Linked DNA regions of Homo sapiens: region 2 is linked to region 1. The links are contacts of gene promoters, found by promoter capture Hi-C in human tissues and cell types (Jung and others, 2019). All regions are on one chromosome and are shown on one strand. Each heading gives the region's core, a stretch centred on a gene start or on the middle of the fragment in contact. The rest is flanking DNA. Distances are from core to core; before and after follow the strand shown.

Evidence for each region. Contacts are between HindIII fragments. The study calls those that stand out against the background at their distance.
Region 2: a fragment that was not itself captured here is called in contact with the fragment with the promoter of MAVS in region 1 in 2 of the 25 tissues and cell types used here (IMR-90 fibroblasts and bladder).

Annotation. Positions count from the first base shown.
Region 1 is chr20:3,844,896-3,850,143 of GRCh38, reverse strand. It overlaps MAVS (mitochondrial antiviral signaling protein), which reads right to left and starts at 3,310. Exons shown (of 7, transcript NM_020746.5): 1 at 3,241-3,310. RefSeq lists silencers at 3,034-3,413, 3,844-3,893. The HindIII fragment of the contact is 19,994 bases long and covers 1-5,248 here.
Region 2 is chr20:3,966,977-3,972,356 of GRCh38, reverse strand. The region is part of intron 1 of RNF24 (ring finger protein 24); the gene reads left to right. Among named protein-coding and RNA genes, the nearest start is that of RNF24, 46 kb to the left of the region's middle. The HindIII fragment of the contact is 3,961 bases long and covers 1,657-5,380 here.

The sequences.
Region 1 (5,248 bases), core at 2,061-4,560:
TACCACGCTCGGCTAATTTTTTGTATTTTTAGTAGAGACAGGTTTCACCGTGTTAGCCAGGATGGTCTCGATCTCCTGACCTCGTGATCTGCCCGCCTCGGCCTCCCAAAGTGCTGGGATTACAGGCATGAGCCACCGCGCCCAGCCAGCTTAAAAATTTTTAAGTGCCTCAAATATAAGCAATTGCTGCCAGTTGTTTATGTAGGAGTTACCACAATTTGCAGTTATAGATGTATTTGCTCGTTACTTTTCTGCCGCCCCCATCAGGGAGTGCTGCAGGGAATAAAAGAGACAAGGTCTATGCCACATCCAATTTATATTCTAATGGGGTGGGACAAATAACAGATCAGTAAATTAATACCCAAATAAGAGTTCCAGATAGCAATAAAGGCTCTAAAGAAAGTAAAGCAGGTAATGAGACAGAGCCCCTGGAGACAGGCATGCTACTTGAACTAGGGGGTCAAAGAAGCCTTTCTGAACTAGCGTGCAGAACACAGCTGAGCTGTTCTCAGGCTCTGAGAAGATTGGTGTTTTAGGCAGAGAGCATGGTAAATGCAAAAGTCCTAAAACAAGAATGAGCTTGGCATGTTTGAAGAATAGAAAGCAGGTCAGTGTGGTCTAGGTCAAGAAAGCTAGGGATGGCTGGCTGCGTGACTCACGCCTATAATCCCAGCACTTTGGGAGGCCTAGGCGGGTGGATCACCTGAGCTCAGGAGGTTGAGACCAGCCTCGCCAACATGGTGAAACCCTTTCTCTACTAAAAATACAAAAATTAGCATGGTGGTGGGCGCCTGTAATCCCAGCTACTCGGGAGGCTGAGGCAGGAGAATCGCTTGAACCCAGGAGGCAGAGGTTGCAGTGAGCTGAAATCATCCCATTGCACTCCAGCCTGGGTGACAAGATCAAAACTCCATCATAGGAAAAAAAAAAAAAAAAGCAAGCAAGCTAGGGAAAGGGGCAGAGATTGTCAAGGTCAAGGAGGTGGCAGGGGCCACTCATGTAGAGTGCTGTAGGAAAGGACTCTGGGTTTTAGTTGGAGTGAAACAGGGAACCACTGGAAGGTTCCGGCAGGGAAAGAAGAGGATCTGATTTACATTAAAGACTTCTCTGGTGGTTGTGAGGACTTTGGAGGGGCCAGGATGAAAACTGGGAGACCAGTAAGGAGGCCACAGCCCAGGAGACAGGATGACTATGGTCAGGATGGGAACCACAGAGATGGCAGGAGGCAGCCAGATTCCTGGTGTTTTGAGGGTGTAGGAGATAAGGGAGAGAAAAGAAGCATGACTCCTTGGGCACTGGGTGGATGGAAGGTGCCCTTTTACCAGGCCAGAGAAGCCAGGGGAGGAGCAGTGGCTCAGAAGGGACTCCAGAACTCAGTTCGGAACAAGTGAAGTTTGAGATGCTATTGGATTCCAAGTGGGTTGTCAGGGAGGGAAGGAGGCAGGAGAGGACCAAGTGGGCATCAGGCAGGCATGAGACCTCTCTCAGGAGGCAGTGCTGTAGAGCAGACAGCACCTAAAAGCTGTTGGGCCACCAGACCTTCCTCACAGGGGAAGCAGTCCTGTCACTGGCCTCAGAGCCTCACATGCATGAGTTGCTTTGCCAGCCAGCAGGCCCTGCTACATTCCTCGTGGGGCAAGTACTAATGACAGGTCAGGAGAATCAGGAAGGTGAGGCGGGGGTCCTCTGAGCCTTCAAGAAATTAGCAAAGAACAACTCTATGGGAGTTAATAGATCCCTTTCTCGGCCGGGCGCGGTGGCTCACGCCTGGAATCCCAGCACTTTGGGAGGCCGAGGCAGGCAGATCACTTGAGGTCAGGAGTTTGAGACCAGCCTGGCCAACATGGTGAAACCCCGTCTCTACTAAAAATGCAAAAATTAGCCAGGCATGGTGGCACACACCTGTAGTCCCAGCTACTCAGGAGGCTGAGGCAGGAGAATCTCTAGACCCAGGAGGCAGAGGTTGCAGTGAGCCAAGATTGGACCACTGCGCTCCAGCCTGGGCAAGAGAGTGAGACTCCATTTCAAAAAAAAAAAGACCCCTTTCTCCTTCCTTTCTCATGGCATCAGCCAGGTACCAGAAGGCAGTCAGATGAGGCACTCTTCTGCATTCCAGCTTCAGCCACAGATGGAGGGGAAGGGATGATGTGGCCCAAACAAAAGGAAAGGAAGCCCACATTTGTTCACATTTATGGAGGGCCCATTGTAGACAGGCACATCCTAAGGTTCTTTCAGTTAATCCTTCCCCAATCCCGTGACAGGGAAAGTGTTGCCAAGGTGCACAGCTGGCCAGAGGCTAGCACAGGATTTGAACCCAAAACCTGCTGCCTCACTGCAACTGGTCATACACCTTGCAGGGCACAGAGACCCCTGCAGCGAGACCCACACAGCCACCTGCCTTCAAGCCCAAAGAGGACCCAAGGTCACTTGGCGGGAGGGAGGCTGAGGGTGCACTTAGGTGGAAGCAACATTTAGTCCAGACATTAACCCTGCTTTCACATGGCTGCCACAGGTCCCAGGTCGCTGGCTGTCCTCCTAGATATTTTTGAGGCTTCACGGCTTCCATACAGAGAATCCCTTTTTCGTGTTTTTGGTTTGTTTCATGTTTTCTTGGCACTTCCTTCCCAACTGAGAAGGAAGTAGGTGACAGAGTGTTCCCAATACAGCAAAGTTTCCGACCTGACTGTCCAGAGGCTCTGAGTGCATCCCGGAAATAAACACCCACCCTTCCCAAAGGGACAGGCCTCACAGCCTTGGATCGGATTCCTGGGCGCGACCCAGGTCCGCGGAGGGCGGGGAGGCCGTTTTGAGCTGGTGTCGCCGCCGAGAACTGTCCAGACCCAGCGGAGGGCGGCAGCACTCGACCTCTAGGCGCACCCGGTCGAGGCTCGGCCCCACCTTAGCGTCACCCTGGGCCCGCGGGCGGCAGGAGGAGGTCAGCGGCCGCTGCCCGTCCCCTTCTGGCCCTACCTTTCCCCCAGCCTGAGCAGACGCCCAGCGCCACCTACCCCCTTTTCCCCGGATGCTGGATGCGGCGCCTGGAGCCCTCAGTGTTCCCGAAACTCTTGCGACAGGGCCCGCTCTTCCGGATCCCCGCGCGTCCTGTCCCCTCCTGGGCCCCCCGCGCACCCCAGACCCAGGGCGTCCCGGCGGACTCCGTCCTGCCGCTGCAGCCACCTTCCCTAAAGGCGTCCGTGCGTGCTGAGCCGAAAGGACCCAACGCCCGGGAAGCGATCTTACCTCGGGTACCCCCGGCCCTGAGACCTGGCGACCGCCGCCCGGGGCCCAGGACCCTTCCCGCAGCGAGGAGGCGGGGCGGGCAGAGCGCGCGGCCATTGGCCATGTGGAGGGGCGGGGCTACTCGGCCGCGCGTGGTTGGCTGGCGACGCAGGCGGCTGCGCAGCGGGGACGGTCACTGGGCCTTGGTTTGCGGGTCGGGAAGCGCTAGACTGGGCTCGGAGAACCGACCTGATTTTTTGCTGGGGGCGCGCAGTCTCGAGCAACTTCCAGGGGAAGTCCGGTGTCCGGCCAGAAACCAGGCAGGTGGCCGGCCTCGGAGTCATCGGGGGGCTGAGAATTCCATCCCCACGCTTCCCAAGTGAAGCAGCCCCTCCTCCCCCTGGGAACTTTGAGGGGTGAGGGTCTTCGTGTCGTTCTCTCCGGCACCCCCATGGCCTGGCATACAGTTAGTGCCCAATAAACGTTGGGTGCCGCTGAAGTCACAGGGGCAAGGATGCCTATCCTGGAGACGTGCACGCTGGGCCTGTGGGAGTGGGAGCGGGCGGGGGACTGCTGGGTAGGTAGGCGCAAGGCAGGGACGCCAAGGTTGGCTGGCGGGCAGGCTGGGTATGGGTTGGGTGCTGCGTGGGAGAGGCCTCTTACGCCCAAGGGCCTGGGACAGGTACCTCCCGCAGTTCCTGCCATCTGCCTCGCCCTTCCCCTTCTGGGGCAGAGGCCAGCACTTACTGAGCACCTACGATCTTCCAGGCACAGGGTCTTCTATTCTTTTTTTTTTTTTTTTTTTTTGAGACAGAGTCATGCTCTGTCGCCCAGGCTGGAGTACAATGGCGCGATCTCGGCTCACTGCAACCTCCACCTCCTGGGTTCAAGCAATTCTCCTGCCTCAGCCTCCCAAGTAGCTGAGATTACAGGCACATGCCACTGCGCCCGGCTAATTTTTGTATTTTTAGTAGAGACGGAGTTTCACCATGTTGGCCAGGCTGGTCTCAAACTCCTGACCTCAGGTGATCCTCCCACCTCGGCCTCCCAAAGTGCTGGGATTACAGGCGTGAGCCACTACGCCCAGCCTCAAGTGAGGTTTTATTACTGTACTTTATATCCCTGTGAATATTTCACAACCTTCAGCATTTACAAAGTATGCTTAATCACACCTGAACTGTAATAAAACCAGCTCTGCCTAGTTTAGCCAAGAGGGCATAAATGTTGATTAGTTCAAGAATCAATCCTGCCTGCTCCCCACCGGAGCAGCTCTAGCAGCTTCATATCTAATTCTTTCAGGAAGAACATTGAAAGTGTAGGAGCGGGCTTCCAAGTGCAGCTATCACTCCTGTCTTTGCTGGACCTCAAAGAGCATTCAAACAATCCCACTGCCTGACTAGGTGGTTCCCTGCCACCTATCAACAGCTTTTATAAAGATTTAGACAAAGAAGAACACAACAACATGCTTATGGTATTCCTATCAAAAGCTCATGATCTGAAACTAATCATAGGGAAACAGTAAGCAAACCCAAAACGAGAGACATTTGACAGCTGTCCTATCCAATACAATGGCTACTAGCCACATGTAGCTATTTTAATTAAAATTAAATAATACTTAGAAGCCAGTTCCTGAGACCCACGAGCCACATTTCTCTTTTTTTTTTTTTTTTTTTTTTTTGAAACAGAATCTCACTCTTTCACCCAGGCTGGAGTGCAGTGGCCCAATCTCGGCTCACTGCAACCTCCGCCTCCCGGGTTCAAGTGATTCTCCTGCCTCAGCCTCACGAGTAGCTGGGACTACAGGCGCATGTCACCACGCCCGGCCAATTTTTGTATTTTTAGTAGAGACGAGGTTTCACCATATGGGCCAGGCAGGTCTCAAACTCCTGACCTCAAGTGATCCACCCACCTTGGCCTCCCAAAGTGCTGGGATTACAGGCGTGAGCCACTGCACCTGGCCCATGAGCCACATTTCAAATGCTATTTTCATGTAGCTAATGGCTTCATACTCGGTGACACAGAGCATTTC
Region 2 (5,380 bases), core at 2,388-4,887, 120 kb before region 1:
TGAAAAGAATGTATATTTTGCTGTTGCTAGGTAGAGTGCTCTATATATTTTGAGTAGATCCTGTTGTCTAATTGTGTTGTTGAATTTTTCTTTATCCTTGCTGGTTTTCTATCTAGTTGTTTCATCAGCTGTTGGGAGAAGGTTTTGAAGTATTTGAGTATAATTATAGATTTCTTTATATCTCCTTTCAGTTCAGTCAGTTTTTCCTTCACATGTTTTGCAGCTCTGTTGTTTTGTGCATGCACATTTAGGATTGCTATGTATTTTTAGTGGGTTGACCATTTTATCATTAGGTAATGTTTCTTTCTCTCTCTGGTAATTTTATTTTCTGTGAAATCTGCTTTGATGTTAATATAGCCACTCCTGCTTTCTTTTGATTAATGCTTGCATTACATATCTTTTTCCATCCTTTTCAACATGCATGTATCATTATTTTTAAAGTGAGTTTCAGGTAGACAGCATATTATTGGGTGATGTTTTTTAATTCATTCTGCCAGTCTCTGTGTTTTAATTGGCATATTTAAATCATTTATACTTAAGCTTGCCATTTTAAACTTTGTTTTCTATTTGTTTTCACTATTTTTGTTTCTGTTACTTGAGTAATTTTTTGAAGTCCTTTTTGATTTTTTGTAGTGTTTTGAGTGTATGTCTTTGTATAGTTTTCTTACTGATTGCTGTAGGCATTGTATTATATATGCAGTCTACTAGTATACTTTACCAGTTCAGACTAGAAATGTTACCTCCTTTTATGTCCCTTTATCCTCCCTTATTTTTAATATGCTCATCTTAAATATTTCCTCTGAATACATTTAGAACCGGGTTGGACAATTATAATTTTTCTTCAACCACTGAATATAATTTAGAAAACTCAAGAGAAGGAAGTTTATTGTATTTACCCTTATATTTGTTTACCATGTTGTTTCTTCCTTCTTGATGTTCCAAGGTTCCTTTTCTTATCATTTCCCTTCTGTTAAGACAGCTTCCTTTAGTCACTCTTCAAGAGTAGGTCTGCTAGCAATAAATTCCCGTTGTTTTCCTTCATGTGAGGCTGTCTTGATTTCCTGTTTCATTCCTGAAGGGTATTTTTGCTGGATGTAGGATTTTGGGTTGATGGCTCTTTTCTTTCAGCACTTGAAAAATGTGTTCCTTCCTTTTGGCCTCCATTGTTTCTGATGAGAAATCTGTGTCTTTCATATTATTTCCCCCAATGGTATCTCCTTAGTTGCTTTCAAGATTTTTTAGTGTTGTTTTAACTCAATTACCTCTGCAAAGAAAAAAAAAGATTTTGTTGTTGTTGTTTTAGTTTTCAGAAGTTTGACTACGATGTGTCTTGTTGTAGATTTCTTTGGGTTTATTCTCTTTGGAGTTTGTTCAGCTTCTTAAATCTGTACACTTATGTACAGATTCCTCAGCTTGCCGAGTAGCTGGGATTACAGGTGCCCACCACCATGCCTGGATAATTTTTGTATTTTTAGTAGAGACAGGGTTTCACCATGTTTGCCAGGCTTGTCTCGAACTCCTGACCTGAAGAGATCCATCCACCTTGGCCTCCCAAAGTGCTGGGATTACAGGTGTGAGTCACCGTGCCTGGCCCTAGTTCACTTATGCTTTCCCCTTTCTTCTCCATTCTGCTGTTGAGCCCATCGCTTAGTTTTAGTTTTTTTATTTCAATTATTGTGTTTTTCAGTTCTATAATTTCCATTTTGTTCCTCTTTATATCTTCTGTTTCTTTGCTGAGAATTTCAGTGTTTTCACTTGTTTCAAGCATGTTCATAAATGCTTGCTTAAACAATTTGATGACGGCTACTTTAAAATCTTTGTCAGATAATTTTAACATTTTTGTCATTGACATTAGCATCTGTTAATTATCATTTCTCATTTGATTTGTGATCTTCCTAGTCTTGGTACGATGAGTAATTTTTAGTTGAAACCTGGACATTTTGTGTATTATGTTATGAGACTCTGGATTTTTTTTAAACCTGATGTGTTAACTGGCTTCCTTTGACAGCACTCTGACAGTGAAACGGTGGGTTGTAATGCTGCTTCATTAATGCCAGGTAAAGGTAGAAGTCCAGGTTCCCTATTTAGCCTTTATTGACATGGGGGGCGGGGACGGGGCAGGAATGGGAGTTCCAGCTCTCAACTAGGCTTTCACTGATACCTCTTTGGCTGGAAAAGGTAGGAGTGCTTGTTGCCACTTGGTGGTGGTAAAATCCCGATTCTTCACGAGATCCTCCTCTGTCATCACCCCATTGAGGAGGAGTATAGTCACTTTGTTACTGCTGGATAGGGGTAGAAGTCAGGGTCCACATGTAGTCTCTACTGATATCACTGAGGTGGAGCCTCATTTTCACCATGTTGTGTAAAAATTCCAGCTGGCCAACATGGTGAAACTCTGTCTCTACTAAAAATACAAAAATTAGCTGGGCATGGTGGTGGGCGCCTGTAGTCCCAGCTACTCGGGAGGCTGAGGCAGGACAATCGCTTGAACCTGGAAGGCGGAGGTTGCAGTGAGCCAAGATCACACCACTGCACTCCAGCCTGGTGACAGAGCAAGACGCCATCTCAAAAAAAAAAAAAAAACAGATTTCAGCTTCCTACTTGGCCTTTTCTAACACTATCCCAGCAAGATGGCTGGGGGGCATCTCGTTACATCCTGGCAAGAGTGAAAATCTAGGCTCTGCCTTCAGCCTTTGCTGGCATGTCTATAGGGGTGTGGCCATAGTTTTTTCTGGGTTGTTTAGCTGAAGTAGGGCAATTCTTGTTTAAAAGCTTTCAGTCTTGTTAACTACTCCTTTTGTCATCCTTTGGCTAGAGAGAACACGTTCATTAGGGCTTTTTTTTTTTTTTGTCTTCACCTGTTGACATTCTTGTTTGCCAACTTTGCCAGCTCTAAGTCTGGGATATAGGAGACAAAAACAAAGCCCAGAGAACTCGTTAACATGTGGTTCCTTGGGTCCCCAGGTCCCTAGTTAGTGTGCTACCTTCTGTCCAACTTAATGTCCATGGTTTTTAGTTATATTTAGCTGGATAAATAGGGAAATGTATGTCTATGCCATCTTTCTGGAGTCAGAAGTCTACCTGACTGTCTTTTAATGGAGATACAGACAGTGATTCCATTATCTTTTATTGTTGCATTTTAGTTAATAATGAAAACTAACATTTCTCAAGTACACAGTATGTGCCCAGGTACTGTTCTAAGTGCTTTAAGTGCTTTTCGTGTGTTGAGTCATTTAATTCCCTTAAAACTTTATGAAATAGTTACTAGTATTATTCTGTCTTATCAGATGAGGAAACCGAGACATAGAAAAGATAAGAAACAAGCCCCAAATTACTGACAAATCCGTGGTTAAACCCCTGGCTCTCTGACTCCATAAGCCCACTCTAATACTCATGGCCTAGGATAAATCTCAAATCTATATGCTTTCCATTATAACAACTTTTTTTTTTTGGAAACTTATCACAGTTTTTCTATCCTAGAATTCAGAAATTTTACTAGGATCTGTCCAAATATAGGTCTTATTTTTAAAATAATTCTCTCTAGAACCCAGTGTATCCATTTCATCAGAAAGCTTAGGTCTTTCTACTGATCAGTGACATGTTTTTAAAATTTTTAATCTTTCCTCTCATCCACCCACTCAAGAAAAGATTTTGCAGAAGGTGTTTCATGTGGTCATAAAGATACTCAATAAATAACAAAGAAGTTAGTTCCTTCTAATATGTCAAAAGCTTTCTCTTTTAGAGATAGTCTTGCTTTGTCACCCAGGCTGGAGCGTAGCAGTGATATCATAGCTCACTGTAACCTTGAATTCCTGGGCTCAAGTGATCCTCCCATCTTAGCCTCCAGAGTAACTAGTACTACAAGCACATGCCACCATGCCCAACTAATTTTTTAATTTTTATTTTTATTTGTACAGGTGGGGTCTCCCTGTGTCTCCCAGGCTGGTCTCAAATCCCTGGCCTCGAGCAGTCCTCCCACCTCAGCCTCCCAAAGTACTGGGGTTACAGGCATGTACCACTGCACCCAGCCCCTTTCTGAGCATTTTTTTTTTCCTTTGAGATGGAGTCTTGCTCTGTCCCAGGCTGGAGTGCAATGGTGCGATCTCAGCTCACTGCAACCTCTGCCTCCCAGGTTGAAGCTAATCTGCCTCAGCTTCCTGAGAAGCTGGGATTACAGGCGCACGCCACCAGGCCCATCTAATTTTTGTATTTTTTAGTAGAGACGGGGTTTCACCACATTAGCCAGGCAGGTCTCGAACTCCTGACCTCGTGATCTGCCCACCTGGGCCTCCCAAAGTGCTGGGATTACAGGCGTGAGCCACCGCACCCAGCCACCTGTTACATTTTTTATTCTTTCTTTCTTTTTTTTTTTTTTTTTTTTTTGTTGCCAGGCTGGAGTGCAGTGGCGCAATCTCGGCTCACTGCAACTTCCGACTCCATGGTTCAAGGGATTCTCCTGCCTCAGCCTCCCGAGTAGCTGGGATTACAGGCATGCGTCACCACGCTCAGCTAATTTTTGTATTTTTATAGAGACAGAGTTTCACCATATTGGCCAAGATGGTCTCGATCTCCTGACCTCGTGATCTGCCCGCCTCAGCCTCCCAAAGTGCTGGGATTACAGGCATGAGCCACTGCACCCGGCACTTCTGAGCATTTTTGAAGCAAAACTAGAATATTGACTCCTGGGAAGATGATATGGTATTGTCCAGGGAACAGGAACTGGTCTAAGAAGAATGTGGCTACCAAGCATGCTTTGAGGAATGCTACTGCAGCCCCATTTAGCTGTGGTGTATTGTGTTAAACTCAGGTCATGTAGGCATCCAAATCTCAAGTAATCTGTCCCTCTTAGAACTTCTTGGTTCTAAGATTGCTGATAAAATACTCAAATCTTCTTGTCTTTTTTTTTTGTTTTGGTTTGATTTTAATAAACTGACTGGGTGGTTTGAAATTTAGGCTGAGGCTAGAGATTTCAAGAACTGAATTTACATAAGGGGAAAAAAAGGCTTTCACGTGAATGAAGTTGGAAATGCCAAGTAAGCTACAACAGTGTACTGTATGTTCTATTTCTCCTCTTCACTCCCACAAGGAGCAATTACTAAATAACTTATATTTGTAAGACTTCAATAGCAAAGAATGCATATTACTAAGATGATATGTAGCCTTTTATCAATTTATTTTAAAAGATTAATACTTCTGGTGAAAATACATTATGATAAAAATTTTGTAAAAACTAATGTGTCACTGGATCAGGATTAACATCTTGGAATACTCTACCATCTACTTAAAATTGTTGGGCCAACATATCAATTGTAGTGAAGCCATTTTATTTACTAAAACAAAGAGAGAAAAATTCCTAAAATATATTCGCATCAACATATCT